Linked DNA regions of Homo sapiens: region 2 is linked to region 1. The links are contacts of gene promoters, found by promoter capture Hi-C in human tissues and cell types (Jung and others, 2019). All regions are on one chromosome and are shown on one strand. The core of a region is centred on a gene start or on the middle of the fragment in contact, and the rest is flanking DNA. Distances in the headings are between cores, read along the strand shown.

Region 1 (7,501 bases), core at 1-2,500:
AAAGTCTTACGTTTTAGTTTTACAAAATTCTACAAGGCAGGTTTTTATTCCTCTTACAGAAGAAGAAACCAAGACCCAGAGCCAAGTACAGACATCAGTAAATACTCAATTAAAATTGGAATTCATGTCTCCCTAGTTTAAAACTACCTCTATCACAAGAAAAATCCCAAATCAATTATGGTCTCACATACACAATGAGTTGGTTCACACTGCTAACAATTTAGGTGGAGGAATCAGCCCTATTTAAAAAATAGAAAACAAAAAAAAAAAAAAATCAATGAATTTTATACATAGCCTACCATACATACTCTAAACTCCTTAACCTGGCATTTACATTTTTAAAATGGTTTCTCAGGTACTTTTCCACTCCTCTATATTTGCACTTTCTATCCTTTACATTTTCCCATGCCATTCCTAACTACCCTCTTCCTACCCCCCCTTTCCAACCATAAAGTTCTTTTTGATCTTTCCATAAATCTGCTCCTTTTGTCTGTGAGGATCTATTTTACCCACTTTTCTACTTGCTAGTGTACCCTGAATACTGAATGACCTATACCAGTCTGAACCATGGATATGAGTTCAGATAAGACTGATCTGAAATTCTTCCCCACTGTCGAGCCAAATGAAACTTCCCTGCCATGATCAAATCCAGCCAGAATCGGACCGGCCTTGCACAGCTCGGCTAACAGCACTTAAGAACTTGCAATGTCAGGCAGTACAGGAGAAAACTGATCTGTACTCGTGCTCAGGAAGACGCCACACACACACTTCAACCGTTGTCCTAAACTGCCTTCCCTTTCGGCCTCCTCACTTCAAATAATAAGACCATCCAATTAATGGAGGACTCCTTTCGCGTAACTCTCCTTAAAGCGGTAGGCGGTGCGAGAACCGGCTATTCAGAGGTAAACACTGGGCGGGAAGAGAGAGAATCTCAATTCTCACAGTGCCCCAATTCCGCTCCCACGCCCCGACGCTGCGCACGTCACGTCGCGTCACACACGCGGCGCGACCCACAGTGCGGCCCGGCCCCGCCCCACGCCACGCCACGGCCCGCCGGGCCCCGCAGGGAGTTCGAAGGCTTCGAGGCTGCTCCCATACGCACTGGTGGAAGGAGAGGCCGCGCTCCCGGCTGAGCACGGTGTCACGGGTGCTGCAGCCCACTGCGGAGCAACTTCGGGTCATCTTCTTGTTACGTGGGGCCCCACCTTCGGGGTTCCCGCGACAGCATGAATCACGACCACTTTAGCTCCGCCCGTTGACTCTGCGGCTACGACCTTTATTTGTCACGAAAGGCGGGCTTTAGAGGCGCGGGACTTCCACACTTCCTCTCCGAAGGCCCTGCGCCGGTGCCGTAGCCAATGACAGGCCACGTTGTGTCCCAGCAGCCAATCGGAAGGGCCTGAGCCTGAAGACGTGCATTTGACCGCTCCTCCCTCCGCGTTGGAGGCGGAATAGTGGGTTTTGCTGCAACCGGTTTATTTTCCTTCTGTTTTCACCCATTCTGGCACAATCTGGCGCCATCGTCCTTCTTGTGAGGCCAAGCCTGAAAATGCGAAGCAGAGAGGCAGGACCAAAATTGAGGCGAATCCAGGAACCTGCCAATGGGTCTCCGGGTGCGGTCTCTGAAACTGGAGGATATCGGGAGGAAAGGGTATGGAAGAGGGATAAAACACGGTGCCTTAGGTGTGTTGAAGACAGAGTCGGGCCAAAAATATATGATTTACTGAGATGCGTGTCGTGTTCTTGCGCTTTATCTTGTAGCTCTCCGATGCGGAGATAATGGGGAAGCTCTTGGCATGGTTGGCTGTAGGTATGTGATACCGGAGGAGCAGGAGTCAAATAGGATACGCCGACTTTTAATTCAAGGAACCCTTTTCTGAAACACTTTGCCACAATGAAGGAAATAAGGTAAGGTTCTTGGGGCTCCTCAGTAGTAATAGGGGCAGGGGACAAGGGGCAATTAAGTGGTTTTGGTTGGGAATGAGGCATTATGAATAGCTTTCAGGAGATAGAGCTTAGAACAATGTCTTAGTTATAAGCTCTTATGTTTGAGGAAGAGATTTCAATTTGCTTAGAGAAGGAAACGGGCCAGTGGGTTTTTGTCTCTGAGAAGGAGATCCTTAGCATACAGAAAACAGAGAAGGGTTTGCAACTTTTCCGTTTCTTTGTATAGCACACAAAAATAATTCCAAATATCCAGGCCTAACAAGATTGCTTCTTTTTCCCCTTTGTGTTTACTTTGTCCAGATTACAGCCGAAGATACATATTAAGGTATTACTTATTCACACCAGTTTTCCATTATAATATGCTTGTATCTTCTCTGAATGGAATTAATAGCTTTTGGTTATGGTTCCTTAAAAGTCACATGGCCTAAGGATAGATGGTCAAGGAACTTTGGAAAAATTGGTCCCTGGGGGATGTGCAGGGCAAATACTTTTTGGCTGTAAGGTGTGTGCAGAGAGTAAGAACTGGATTTAAATACTGTAAGTTGGTTGGGCTGTTAGAGCCTTTTCCTGCTCAACCAATTAAGACCCGAGTGAGGCTGAATAAAAATAACATTGTTTTTAGCTATCTTTAAGGAAAAAATTAGTTGCCTTATATTTTTGTAACAGTTTTACTCAGATATAATTCTCATACCACACAACTAATTGGTTTAAAGTGTACAATTCAGTGGGTTTTAGTATATGCACAGAATTGTGGAACAGTCACAATCAATATTAGAACATTTTCATCACTCCAGAAAGAAACCTCATTCTTACTAGCAGCACCTCCAAATATTCCCCCACCCCGCTCAGCAAACACTAATTTAGTTTCCGTGTGCCTCTGCCTGCTCTGTACACTTCATGTAAGTGGAATTATGAACTAATATATGGTCTTTGTGACTGGCTTCTTTCACTTGGAATGTTTTCAGAGTTCATCCATCTTATAGCACGTATCAGTACTTTATTTTTTATTGCTGAATCGTACTCCATTTTATGGATGTAGCAGATTTTGTTTATCCGTTCAACAGTTGGTGGACATTTGGGTTTTCCAATTTTTTTTTTTACTATTATGAACATTTGTGTACAAGTTTTTGTGTGGACAAATGTTTTCATTTTCCTGATTACACACCTAAGAGTGGAATTGGTGAGTCATAAGATAACTGTGTTTAGCTTCTTGAGGAAGTGCCAGATTATTTTCCCTAGTGGCTGCACCATTTTACATTCCCACCAGCAGTGGATGAGGCTGCCAGTTTCTCCACATTTTTGTGCATGTGAAGTGGCTGTCTCATCGTGGTGTTTGCCTTTTCTTAAGGACTCAAAAGTTTGCAGATACAGGCATTCACTTGCCATTTTCTTAAGGTAGAGTTGAAAGTACTGCTGCCAGTTCATCATCTGAAATGAGGGCTGTTTTCTTTCCTGTTTAATTGGATTGCAACTATTTGCCTTTCCTAAAGATGAAATAGTGTGCTTCCTACATTATTCTGACAACATTCCTTTAATTGTTAATTTCAGATGAATTTCTGAAAACTGCTTTTATCAGAACAGATTTACTTAAATGAAGGCAATAGCCGCAAGGGGTCACTGCTCTAGATATTTACTTCTGCATAGGAAATAAGTAATCCTTTATAGATGGAATTTTTTTTTCTTAGTTGTATTTTTGTATCTTTACATTTGTTTATAACTTATCTATACTTTTTTTGTTGTTGTGATTATTTTACTGTTGACATGGAAGTTCTCAATCTGATCATTTGGTTATATCATTGCTTCTTCTAGTAACTTCATATCCAGTGATTAAACCTTTTCACTGCTGTTCACATAATGAACCGTTGTGATTATTGAATACTTAAATGAGGATATGTAAGCTGTATTAAAGATAGTGTTATTTGCAAAGGCATTGACTATTGCACAAAAAATTTTAAAAGAAAATATCTCTTTTCAGGAATTGTACTCTCAGAGATGTTGAGAAAAGATACATGGGTCTTGGAAGATAATTACTCAAAATATGCAGGGAAGGTAGTATATCTTTCTATTTTAAATGTATTAAGTATTCCTGGAACTATAGCAGTGAGTTGGAAATGGAGGATTGTCCAAGTAAAAAACATTTATTAAGGCTTTAATGAAATCTACCTATTTTATGGTATATAATCTCATTAATTGTCCACTTGGAAAGAATAATAACAGATATTTATTTATTGGCCAGTTACTATGGGCCACAAATTATGCTGAGCTTTTTTTAATTTCATTTCATTTTATTTTATTTTTTGAGATGGGGTCTCACTCTGTCACCCAGGCTGGAGTGCAGTGGCGCAATCTCAGCTTATTGCAACCTCTGTCTTCCAGGCCCAAGCAATCTTCCCACCTCAGCTTCCTAAGTAGCTGGGACCACATGCATGTACCACTACACCTGGCTAATTTTTTTTTGTATATTTGGTAGAGACAGGGTTTTACCATGTTGCCCAGGCTGCTAAGCTTTTTATATACAGTATATAGAAAGAGTTGGTTTTCTTAAACAATATTTATTTCTCATAATAACTCTATGAAAGCAGGTATAGACTTCTTGCTTTCTAGGGTTGGTATCTTGCTTGTTGAGGACCTACCCTTTTGTGTTGCCGAATTTTTCATTGTTTGAGTTCTGTCTTTTGTTTCAGAAAGCCATGGAGTTTTGAAATTATTGTTATATCATTATTTGTTACATAATTATTTCTACTTCTAGAATCTCATGCTAACTTGGAAGTGTCTTCTCAGCATCAAGCCTGATATGGAGGGGCAGCTACACCCTAATACGCTCCAAAACTAGTTATGCTTTGTTTTATACGTAATGCTTCTGTTATTAGACAAGTGGTTTCCAAATATCAGAAGCAGTGCTAGGACTTAAAGGAAAAGGGGGAGTGTTTTTTCTTCTAATAGAACTTTTGAGCAGTGATGAAAGGAAAACAAGAAGACTCAAAAGATTATAAATCTCAGGCACGAATTAGTGTTCTGCCAATTAGGAACATTCTGATTGCTTGACAAGGTCTATATTTTGCTGATGAGGAGTAGAAGCCTGTGGGAGGTGGGGGTGGAAGCAGCAGAAGGAAAAGAGTAGCAAGTATTTAGTAAAATGTATTCATCATAGTGGATAAAAATCAAGCTTTGGGGAAAAAGGTCAAACTCCTTCAATGATGCTGTACATCTGTACCTTTACTCCATCCTATAGCAAATATTTGTATAACTGCACAGAAGAAATTGGACAATATTCCTTGAAAAATTCTTAGAAAGTTCAACTTTCCAAGTTAGTATCACCCCAAGGAAAATTATATGAGTAGGAATACCTAATTTCTAGCCATACTCTAGTTCCAATTAGCTTCTCTAAGTAGCTGGAACTGCAGGCGTGTGCCACCACACCTGGCTAATTTTTTGTATTTTTGGTAGAGAAGGGGTTTTGCCGTGTTGCCCAGGCTGCTAAGATTTTTATATATAGTGTATAGAAAGAGTTGGTTTTCTTGGCCAGGCATGGTGGCTCGCACCTGTAATCCCAGCACTTTGAAAGGCTAAGGCAGGTGAATCACCTGAGCTCAGGAGTTCAAGACCAGCCTGGCCAACATGGCGAAACTCCGTCTCTACTAAAAATACAAAAATTAGCCGGGCATGGTGGCACGCACCTGTAACCCCAGCTACTTGGGAGGCCAAGGCAGGAGAACCACTTGAACCCAGGAGGTGGAGGTTGCAGTGGGCCAAGATTGGCCACTGCACTCCAGCCTGGGTGACAGAGCAAGACTCTGTCTCAAAAAAGAAAGAGTTGGTTCTGTTAAACAATATTTATTTCTCATAATAACCCTATGAAAGCAGATACAGACTTCTGGCTTTTTAGGATTGGTATTTCACTTGTTGAACACCTACCCTTGTGTCAGATGTATAGCAGGTTAACAAAGTCAATACAGTGATACACTTGACATAATCTTTGTTCTGAGTTTTTTTCCCAATTATAGTAAAATTGGAGGTCTTAACTGTTCTACATTAGATAAATATATGCATTTGTTTTAAAGAGCTAAGCAATGAGAATCTTACAACTAGAGCTGAAGTTCAAGAAATAAATGTCCAATGATTAAATTTTTTCCACTGCTGTTCACATCATGATTTGTTGTGATTAATGTATGTGGATGAGGACATAATAGAAAAAGAAAATGATGAGACTTGTATATATTGTGTTTCTGCACAATGAGTTCCTTTGAATGTTTTTCGTTTTAGGAATAAAATTGAAGGGTGTTTTTCTTAGAGAACATCATTTGTCATATTTATTTGATCAAGAAGTTGAAGATTTATATAATAAGGTATGGGACTTACACATTTATTTTGATAAAAGAACACAGAAAAGGTCAGGTATGAGCAGAAAATTGACATTTATTTCAGCCTAATGTGGATACTGTACTCTGAATTAAAAATTTCTTTTCCTTACTCTTCCAGCTTTTAAAGATAAGTATTATTTCAAAATAGTATTTTTTTAATTAATAGATTCAATTCAGGAAAGGCATTGGAGGGGGTGGAGCTTTTAACTTTGACAGTCTCACTCTGTTGCCCAGGCTGGAGTGCAGCGGCGCAATCTCTGCTCACTGCAATCTCTGCCTCCTGGGTTCAAATAGTTATTGTGGCCCAGCTTCCCAAGTGGCTGGGATTAGAGGCGCATGCCACCACACCCAGCTAATTTTTTTTATTAAGTAGAGACCATGTTTTGCCATGTTGGCCAGACTGGTCTCAAACTTCCAGCCACCAACCTCAGCCTCCCAAAGTGCTGGGATTATAGTCATAAGCCACCACACCTGGCTGTTGGTTATCTTTTCTTAGAAATAATGATATAATCTTTTCAGCACCTGATATTCTTAAAGATCCAGGGTTTACAAATGACTGTTAGATATGCCAAGGATGACTAGCCTATAACTTAAGGATCTGTTCAGGAACAGTAGAAAAGAAGGTGATAGGAAACTGGGAATCTTAAATCTAATACTAGTTCTGTCATGAATTAGGCTTGTTATTGTAGTTGTTTCTCAAATTTAAGAAAATATGAGGGGTCTTGAAAAAGTGCATGGAAAATGCATATCATGAAAAAACTATGCATGGATTTCAAAATTTTTGGACCAAAATAAACTCCTACTAACTTGTTATAACATGTCTGAACAGGATCTAGTTTGAAGCACTAAGAAGAATAAGACATCAGTTTGAAAAGAGGCTCTATCAGAACAACACGAATTCTGCTAAAATTGAAGCAAGAACAAACATCAAATATATGTTGACACTTGGGTGGAAGAATGGTGAACTAATTGATGCTTTATGAAAAGTTGATAGGGACAGTGCTCCAAAGAAATCAGTTTACAAATGGATAACTCGTTTTAAGAAGGCATAAGGTAATGTTGAAGAAGAAGCCCACAGTGGCAGATCATCCACATCAGTTTGTGAGAAAAAAGTTAGTTCATGGCGTAATTGAAGAAAACCAACAATTAACAGCAGAAACAACAGCCAACACCATAGACATCTCAGTTGGTTC
Region 2 (7,501 bases), core at 2,850-5,349, 280 kb before region 1:
ATTTTTTATGCCTCATGTTATTTTCTGTTGGATCTTTGATTACTTAAGAAAAGTGAGACTTCTCAATATTAAAAGAGCTAAGTTTGTTCAGAACCATGTAACTTTCTGTATTTGCCTTTAAATTTTTCTGCTGTCACTTTGATGAAATAGATAGCCAAGATCATTTTTAATTGTTAAGTCTTTTGACATTTTTTACAAACTTCCCAAAATCAAATCTTAAATTAAGTTGTTTCAATCTCAAATTAATTTTGAGATTTTTCTGTTGGACCCCTGGAAAGTTGCAAGAGATGTTTCTATTGCCTTGTAAAAGACTGATATAAAACTAATTAAGCGTATTTGATATGTTAAATTACATGAGAAGCATTGATTGTCAATGAGTAAGTGATGTTAAACCTTCAAGTTATATTTATGGGTATGTTATTGATATGAGTGCTCCAAAAATTAATATGAGATTGCTAGAAATCTAACATGTCATCAGTCATAATTTGGGTTATTATGTTAAAGTATTGTATACCACAGAAAGAATCAAATTTCCTTGTCACATGCTGGTTATAATGAACTCTCATCAAATTTTTAACCATGGCCATTCTGCCCTTGTTATCCACAGTATTGTTTTGATTCTTGTCCAAAAGCACCTGGATCACTGCAGTCCCCCACCACAAGTTGCTTTTTCTTCAAGCAGATTCATGGGAAAAACTCTGACAAGTACTCTTGAATACAGATTTATGTTAATTATTTAAACAAAGTAATATACTATGGCACAAGTAAAATTTTACTATGTAACTAACACAGCCAAGGAAGAATTGAGTGCTAGGTGTTAATTATTTCCCTAGATGAATCTTTTAAAAACCCACAGGTCTGCAACATGAATTGTCTTTTAAATTAAATTTGGCAGTAGTGATTCTTTTTTTTTTTTTTTTAAATTTTTATTTTTTTTATTGATCATTCTTGGGTGTTTCTCGCAGAGGGGGATTTGGCAGGGTCATAGGACAATAGTGGAGGGAAGGTCAGCAGATAAACAAGTGAACAAAGGTCTCTGGTTTTCCTAGGCAGAGGACCCTGCGGCCTTCCGCAGTGTTTGTGTCCCTGGGTACTTGAGATTAGGGAGTGGTGATGATTCTTAATGAGCATGCTGCCTTCAAGCATCTGTTTAACAAAGCACATCTTGCACCGCCCTTAATCCATTTAACCCTGAGTGGACACAGCACATGTTTCAGAGAGCACAGGGTTGGGGGTAAGGTCACCGATCAACAGGATCCCAAGGCAGAAGAATTTATCTTAGTACAGAACAAAATGAAAAGTCTCCCATGTCTACTTCTTTCTACACAGACACGGCAACCATCCGATTTCTCAATCTTTTCCCCACCTTTTCCCCCTTTCTATTCCACAAAACCGCCATTGTCATCCCGGCCCGTTCTCAATGAGCTGTTGGGTACACCTCGCAGATGAGGTGGTGGCTGGGCAGAGGGGCTCCTCACTTCCTAGTAGGGGTGGCCGGGCAGAGGCGCCCCTCACCTCCCGGACGGGGCAGCTGGCCGGGCGGGGGGCTGACCCCCCCACCTCCCTCCTGGACAGGGCGGCTGGCCGGGCGGGGGGCTGACCCCCCCACCTCCCTCCCGGACGTGGGGCTGACCCCCCCACCTCCCTCCCGGACGGGGCGGCTGGCCGGGCGGGGGGCTGACCCCCCCACTTCCCTCCCGGACGGGGCGGCTGGCCAGGCAGAGGGGCTCCTCACTTCCCAGTAGGGGCGGCTGGGCAGAGGCGCCCCTCACCTCCCGGACGGGGCGGCTGGCCGGGCGGGGGGCTGACCCCCCCACCTCCCTCCCGGATGGGGCGGCTGGCCGGGCGGGGGGCTGACCCCCCCACCTCCCTCCCGGATGGGGCGGCTGGCAGGGCGCCTGAGCCCCCCACCTCCCTCCCGGACGGGGCGGCTGCCGGGCGGAGACGCTCCTCACTTCCCAGACGGGGTGGCTGCCGGGCAGAGGAGCTCCTCATTTCTCAGACGGGGCGGCTGCCGGGCGGAGGGGCTCCTCACTTCTCAGATGGGGCGGATGCTGGGCGGAGGGACTCCTCACTTCTCAGACGGGGCAGCTGGGCAGAGACGCTCCTCACCTCCCAGACAGGGTCGCGGCCGGGCAGAGGCGCTCCTCACATCCCAGACGGGGCGGCGGGGCAGAGGCGCTCCCCACATCTCAGACGATGGGCGGCCGGGCAGAGACGCTCCTCACTTCCCAGATGGGATGGCTGCCGGGAAGAGGCGCTCCTCACTTCCTAGATGGGATGGCGGCCGGGCAGAGACGCTCCTCACTTTCTAGACTGGGCAGCCAGGCAGAGGGGCTCCTCACGTCCCAGACGATGGGCGGCCAGGCAGAGACGCTCCTCACTTCCCAGACGGGGTGGTGGCCGGGCAGAGGCTGCAATCTCGGCACTTTGGGAGGCCAAGGCAGGCGGCTGGGAGATGGAGGTTGTAGCGAGCTGAGATCACACCACTGCACTCCAGCCTGGGCACCATTGAGCACTGAGTGAACCAGACTCCGTCTGCAATCCCGGCACCTCGGGAGGCCAAGGCTGGCGGATCACTCGCGGTTAGGAGCTGGAGACCAGCCCGGCCAACACAGCGAAACCCCGTCTCCACCAAAAAAGTACGAAAACCAGTCAGGCGTGGTGGCGCGCGCCTGCAATCGCAGGCACTCGGCCGGCTGAGGCAGGAGAATCAGGCAGGGAGGTTGCAGTGAGCCGAGATGGCAGCAGTACAGTCCAGCTTCGGCTCGGCATCAGAGGGAGACCATGGAAAGAGAGGGAGAGGGAGACCGAGAGGGAGAGGGGAGAGGGGAGAGGGGAGAGGCAGAGGCAGAGCAGGAATTCAGATTTTTTTTTTTTTGGCAGTAGTGATTCTTAAGAGCCTGTGAGTATCGTGACTTTTTAAAAAGTGCTGTTACAAGATCCATTTTTTTCCCTAAGAGACAATTTTTTTAATCATTAAAGAAGAAATCATTGTATCACCAGTAAGAGTGGTGTATTTAAACAGAATATTACAAATTCCCTCTAGAAAGTTTATTTTGTAAACTTATTTTGTAATTCGTTTCAAGATTTGCTACTGGCATCAGTTTTGCTGGGAGGAGGCATAATTTCTGTTTCAGTCATTTTGAAGTTTATTACCATTTTGTTGTCAGAAGTTAATTCTATATATGTTTTTATATAACAAACACAATTTTGAAATCATTACCATCTGACCACTTGTTTTCTTAGCTGATTTGTAGCCTTCTTATTACTGGCAATATTACTGTAAGGCTAGCCGAGAGAAAGGATGAGTAGACCTAAGTCAAGCAAGTTTATTAACCTGCTGGGCTGCTCCTTAACAGTCAAAGGAGGCAGCCCTGAACTCACAGAATGAGGAGTTTATATGGGGTCGGAGGGGCTTAAGGGAGTTTCTGGGTATAACCGCATCCTGGGGTTGTTTGTCGGTTATCTTTACCGCTAAGAGTATCTATTAGCTTGTAACAGGCACAAAGGTAGTTCATCAGCTTGTAATAGACTTATAACACGTCATTCCCTGACTTTTAAGGTGGCAGTTAGATGAAAAACAGGAATTTACAAGAATGTGTAACTAAGGTTTGTTCACATTTCCCACGACTTCCCCGGTGCTGCCCAAATGGCTGTAATTAGGGTTTGCTCCACTTAGCATGTCTGGTAACTTTGCTGTGGCACCCAGATAAGTGTTTAGGAAGGCAGCTGCAGAGTATTCAGGGTAAGGGGAAGTTGGGGGGATTCCTGGGGTAGCTTGTCCCTAACAATTACCAAAGTAGCTTTCAGTATTTTCACTCTAGAGGGAAGGATTAGCCTTTCTCATTTGCATGATTTAAGAAAAGGGGAAAAGGGAAGCTTCTTTTTTTCCTCCCTCTTCCTAGTCTTTAAGGCAAACACATCACTTAAAGATAGTTGATTAGGGGAAGTGGACAGGGTTCGGAGGTAATATTTCTGATGTCTAGATGTCTAAAATAGAGACCCCTAAATTGTGTACATGAGACACACAGTTCTGTCTTCAAACATTTGTTCATTCACTTATTTAAAAAAAAATTGCTCATTGAGCATCTACTGTGCTCCAGGTGCTGTGGTAGGATTAAAAGATGACTGGCCAGTACCTGTGTAGCTCAGACTCGGGTAGTGGGAAGAGACCTGAAAACAACTGACCTTAAAATATAACCAGGACCAGCCAGGCGCGGTGGCTCACGCCTGTAATCCCAGCGCTTTGGGAGGCCGAGGCAGGCAGATCATGAGATCAGGAGATTGAGAACATCCTGGCTAACACGATGAAACCCCATTCCTATTAAAAATACAAAAAATTAGCCAGGTGTGGTGGCGGGTGCCTGTAGTCCTAGCTACTCGGGAGGCTGAGGCAGGAGAATGGCGTGAACCTGGGAGGCAGAGCTTGCAGTGAGCCGAGATCGTGCCACTGCACTCCAGCCTGGGCGACAGAGCGAGACTCCATCTCAAAAAAAAAAATATCTATATCTATATCTATATCTATATATCTATATATAGATATAGATAGATAGATAGATAGATAAAACTAGGACCAGGCAAATGTCTTTAGAAGCCTTAAACACACTGAACACTGTGTGATGTGCTACCCATCTATAACTTTCCATATGTAAATAAGTAAATAAGTGTAAAGAAGTCCAATATAATTGTGATTACTTTCCTTAAAGATGACATTTACTTGAGGAGGGAGGAGCTACATATTTTTCCACATTTTTATTTTATTTTATTGCCCTAGCTTTTTGAGTGTCCTAAGGCTGTGCTTCCGTTACCTGGGAAATCCAACCCTAAGAACAACCTAACCCCTAAGAACAACGCTAAGAGCACTTGAAGGTATTCATAAAACTCAGAGGAATCCCTGAGGACTGGGCAGACACTTGAGAAGTGGCCATCAGTTGTATTGAGCAGTTAGCATGTAACACTGTGTGGAAACACACAGGTTTTCCTTGGGGGAGTGAAGACAGAGACAAATGTGGGGCAATGAAGTCAGAGACAAAGACACTTAATGGCTGTCTCTTCCCAAATATACACCATGTTTGGGAAGAATGCATCTGGAGGCTTTTGGGAAAAAGAAATATTTCATAATCAAGTGTTTGCCTAGGATGCTGCCCTTTTCCTAAAGGAAATTTATCAACATCTGTTTCACAGCCACAAGATAATTGCATGTTTATTGAAGTTTTGAGATCCATTTATACTGGCTAGAGCACTCACTGAACAGTTTTGTAGTCTTCTTATAAAATATTAGATTGGGACTTGTTAGAGTTATAGATTATAAACACCACCCAAATTCAACATTCTGTAAATTTTTACCACCAGTTTTATGGCTGAGGCTATCTTAGCTCTCTTGACTTCCATCCCTAGTACAAGTTGTTGGCATTTTGAAAGGAACCCTTTCCCCTATCTACAGCAAAACAAAATTTAAAATAATTTAACAAAGTTGACTTTTCACTGAAAAAGTTAAAAAAAGAAACAAAAGGCAGGGCGCGGTGGCTCACGCCTGTAATCCCAGCACTTTGGGAGGCCAAGGCGGGCAGATCACGAGGTCAGGAGATCGAGACCATCCTGGCTAACACGGTGAAACCCCGTTTCTACTGAAAATACAAAAAATTAGCCGGGCGTGGTGGCGGGCGCCTGTAGTCCCAGCCACTCGGGAGGCTGAGGCAGGAGAATGGCATGAACCTGGAAGGCAGAGTTTGCAGTAAGCCAAGATTGTGCCACTGCACTCCAGCCTGGGGGACAGAGTGAGACTCCATCTCAAAAAAAAAAAAAAAAAAAAAGAAAAGAAAAAAAATTGACCAAGTCCCTTTTTAAAAAATTATTTATTTATTTATTTATTTAGAGATGAGATCTTGCCATCTTGCCCAGGCTGGTCTTGAACATCCTTGGCTCAAGCAATCCTCCCACCCCGGCCTCCCAAATTGCTGGGATTACAGGTGTGAGCCACTGTGCCTGGCCAACCAAGTCCCTTTGAGTCATTTTGTACCAAAGTGAATGCAGCTGTTAGCTGGATTCTCACCAGCTAAGTGATCTTCAGCCCACATTATTTGAAGAACAGGCAATTCCAATTCACATTTGAGTCACAGCGAGATTTAAAATACAGTGCTGCACTTTACAGGTGTTCTGGCTCTTTTAGCCAAGATGTTAAATGTGAGACATCTAAAGGACTATTCTCTGAACATGGCCAGATACCAGACATGCTAAGCATGGTTAGAGCTGAGCCCTCTGCAATTCTGGGGGCTGGTGGGTACCCTCTTCTCCTTTTGGGATTCCTCTCTGTTTAGCTCCTATTGGAGACAAATAGTTCCAAGAAAGATGTGAAGAAACAGAATAAAGGCAAAACGTGAGTCTGGGGAAGTAAGTCATTGCCTAGGTAAGAAACCTACTTTTAGTCGAGGGCTTTTAGGATATCTGCATATAAATTGGGACTTTTAAGGTAACTCAAAGATTCATTCATTAAACCAATAGTATTTCAGCCCTTGGGATGAACTCAAACTCTTGACTTTCTTAGACAGACTCTACCCTGTCACACAAACTCAAGAGTCATGGTGGGGGCATCTCAACTAATTAGGTAATTCTGAGCTACAGCATAATTGGATACCAGTTTTAAAAGAGATGAATGCTTGCTCTCCATGTAAAACAAACAGAAAGGAAAGCAGCCTTCTCCACATTGCAGGAGAAATGGTTTTATTGCCTCAATTGGGAATATCCTCATTAAAAACTGGTCCTACACACTAATTACTGTTTTAATGGATTAAATGGAAAGACATACATTGAAAATGTCACAAGTAGTTAAGCTTTGTATGGTGGAATTGCTAGAGGTTTTTTGTTTTGATATTTTGGTAATTCTCAGATTTTCTTCATTGAGCATATTATTCATTCATTCATTCATTCATTCATTCATTTTTAGAACCAAGCAACACCTCATTCTATGCCATAGAATGAGTGTTCCCCTTGGCTTAATTTTTTTAAATTATACGTGTTTGGGGAGAAAATTTAAGTGGTACATGAAGTTTGAAGTTGAGAGGAAATGTATTTTATTATTGTATAAAAGACTCAAGTTGGACTAATTCAATACTCAAAAATCATCATTTCCTTTAATGTGGTGATTCTCAACCCTGGCTGCACTTTGTAATTACCTGGGAAGCCTTAAAAATACCAATTCCAGATCACTCACTCAATCTCTACAACCAGATCAAATGGTTCAGAAGCAGAATAGGGCCAATTAGTATTTTTAGAAGATCAACTTATTATAATATCTAAGGTTCCATATTGCAATTCTTTTATCTTTACAGCATTGACTAGGAAGTTACATTACAGACAGTCCCTAACTTACAATAATTCCACTTACAATTTTCCAACTTCATGATGAATTTATCTGAACTAAATGCATTTTCAACTTAATAATTTTGTTTACTTATAATAAGTTTATCTGGACATCACCCCATATAAGTTGAGGGACTTT

Evidence for each region. Contacts are between HindIII fragments. The study calls those that stand out against the background at their distance.
Region 2: a fragment that was not itself captured here is called in contact with the fragment with the promoter of THAP9 in region 1 in 1 of the 25 tissues and cell types used here (hippocampus).

The regions. Positions count from the first base shown.
Region 1 is chr4:82,894,484-82,901,984 of GRCh38, reverse strand. THAP9 (THAP domain containing 9) reads right to left here and starts at 1,250. Exons shown (of 5, transcript NM_024672.6): 1 at 1,103-1,250. The coding sequence starts at 1,182. It overlaps THAP9-AS1 (THAP9 antisense RNA 1), which reads left to right and starts at 1,069. Exons shown (of 4, transcript NR_034077.1): 1 at 1,069-1,651; 2 at 1,762-1,908; 3 at 6,211-6,293; 4 at 7,138-7,501. It overlaps SNORD143 (small nucleolar RNA, C/D box 143), which reads left to right and starts at 6,057; the gene lies at 6,057-6,132. SNORD144 (small nucleolar RNA, C/D box 144) reads left to right here and starts at 3,760; the gene lies at 3,760-3,845. It also overlaps a transcript of SEC31A not described here. RefSeq lists a silencer at 891-1,240 and enhancers at 766-1,285, 1,551-1,670, 1,286-1,805. The HindIII fragment of the contact is 5,539 bases long and covers 1-4,783 here.
Region 2 is chr4:83,176,794-83,184,294 of GRCh38, reverse strand. All of the region lies in intron 4 of LOC124900167 (a long non-coding RNA gene), which reads left to right. Among named protein-coding and RNA genes, the nearest start is that of PLAC8, 66 kb to the right of the region's middle. RefSeq lists an enhancer at 2,615-3,190. The HindIII fragment of the contact is 8,357 bases long and covers 1-7,501 here.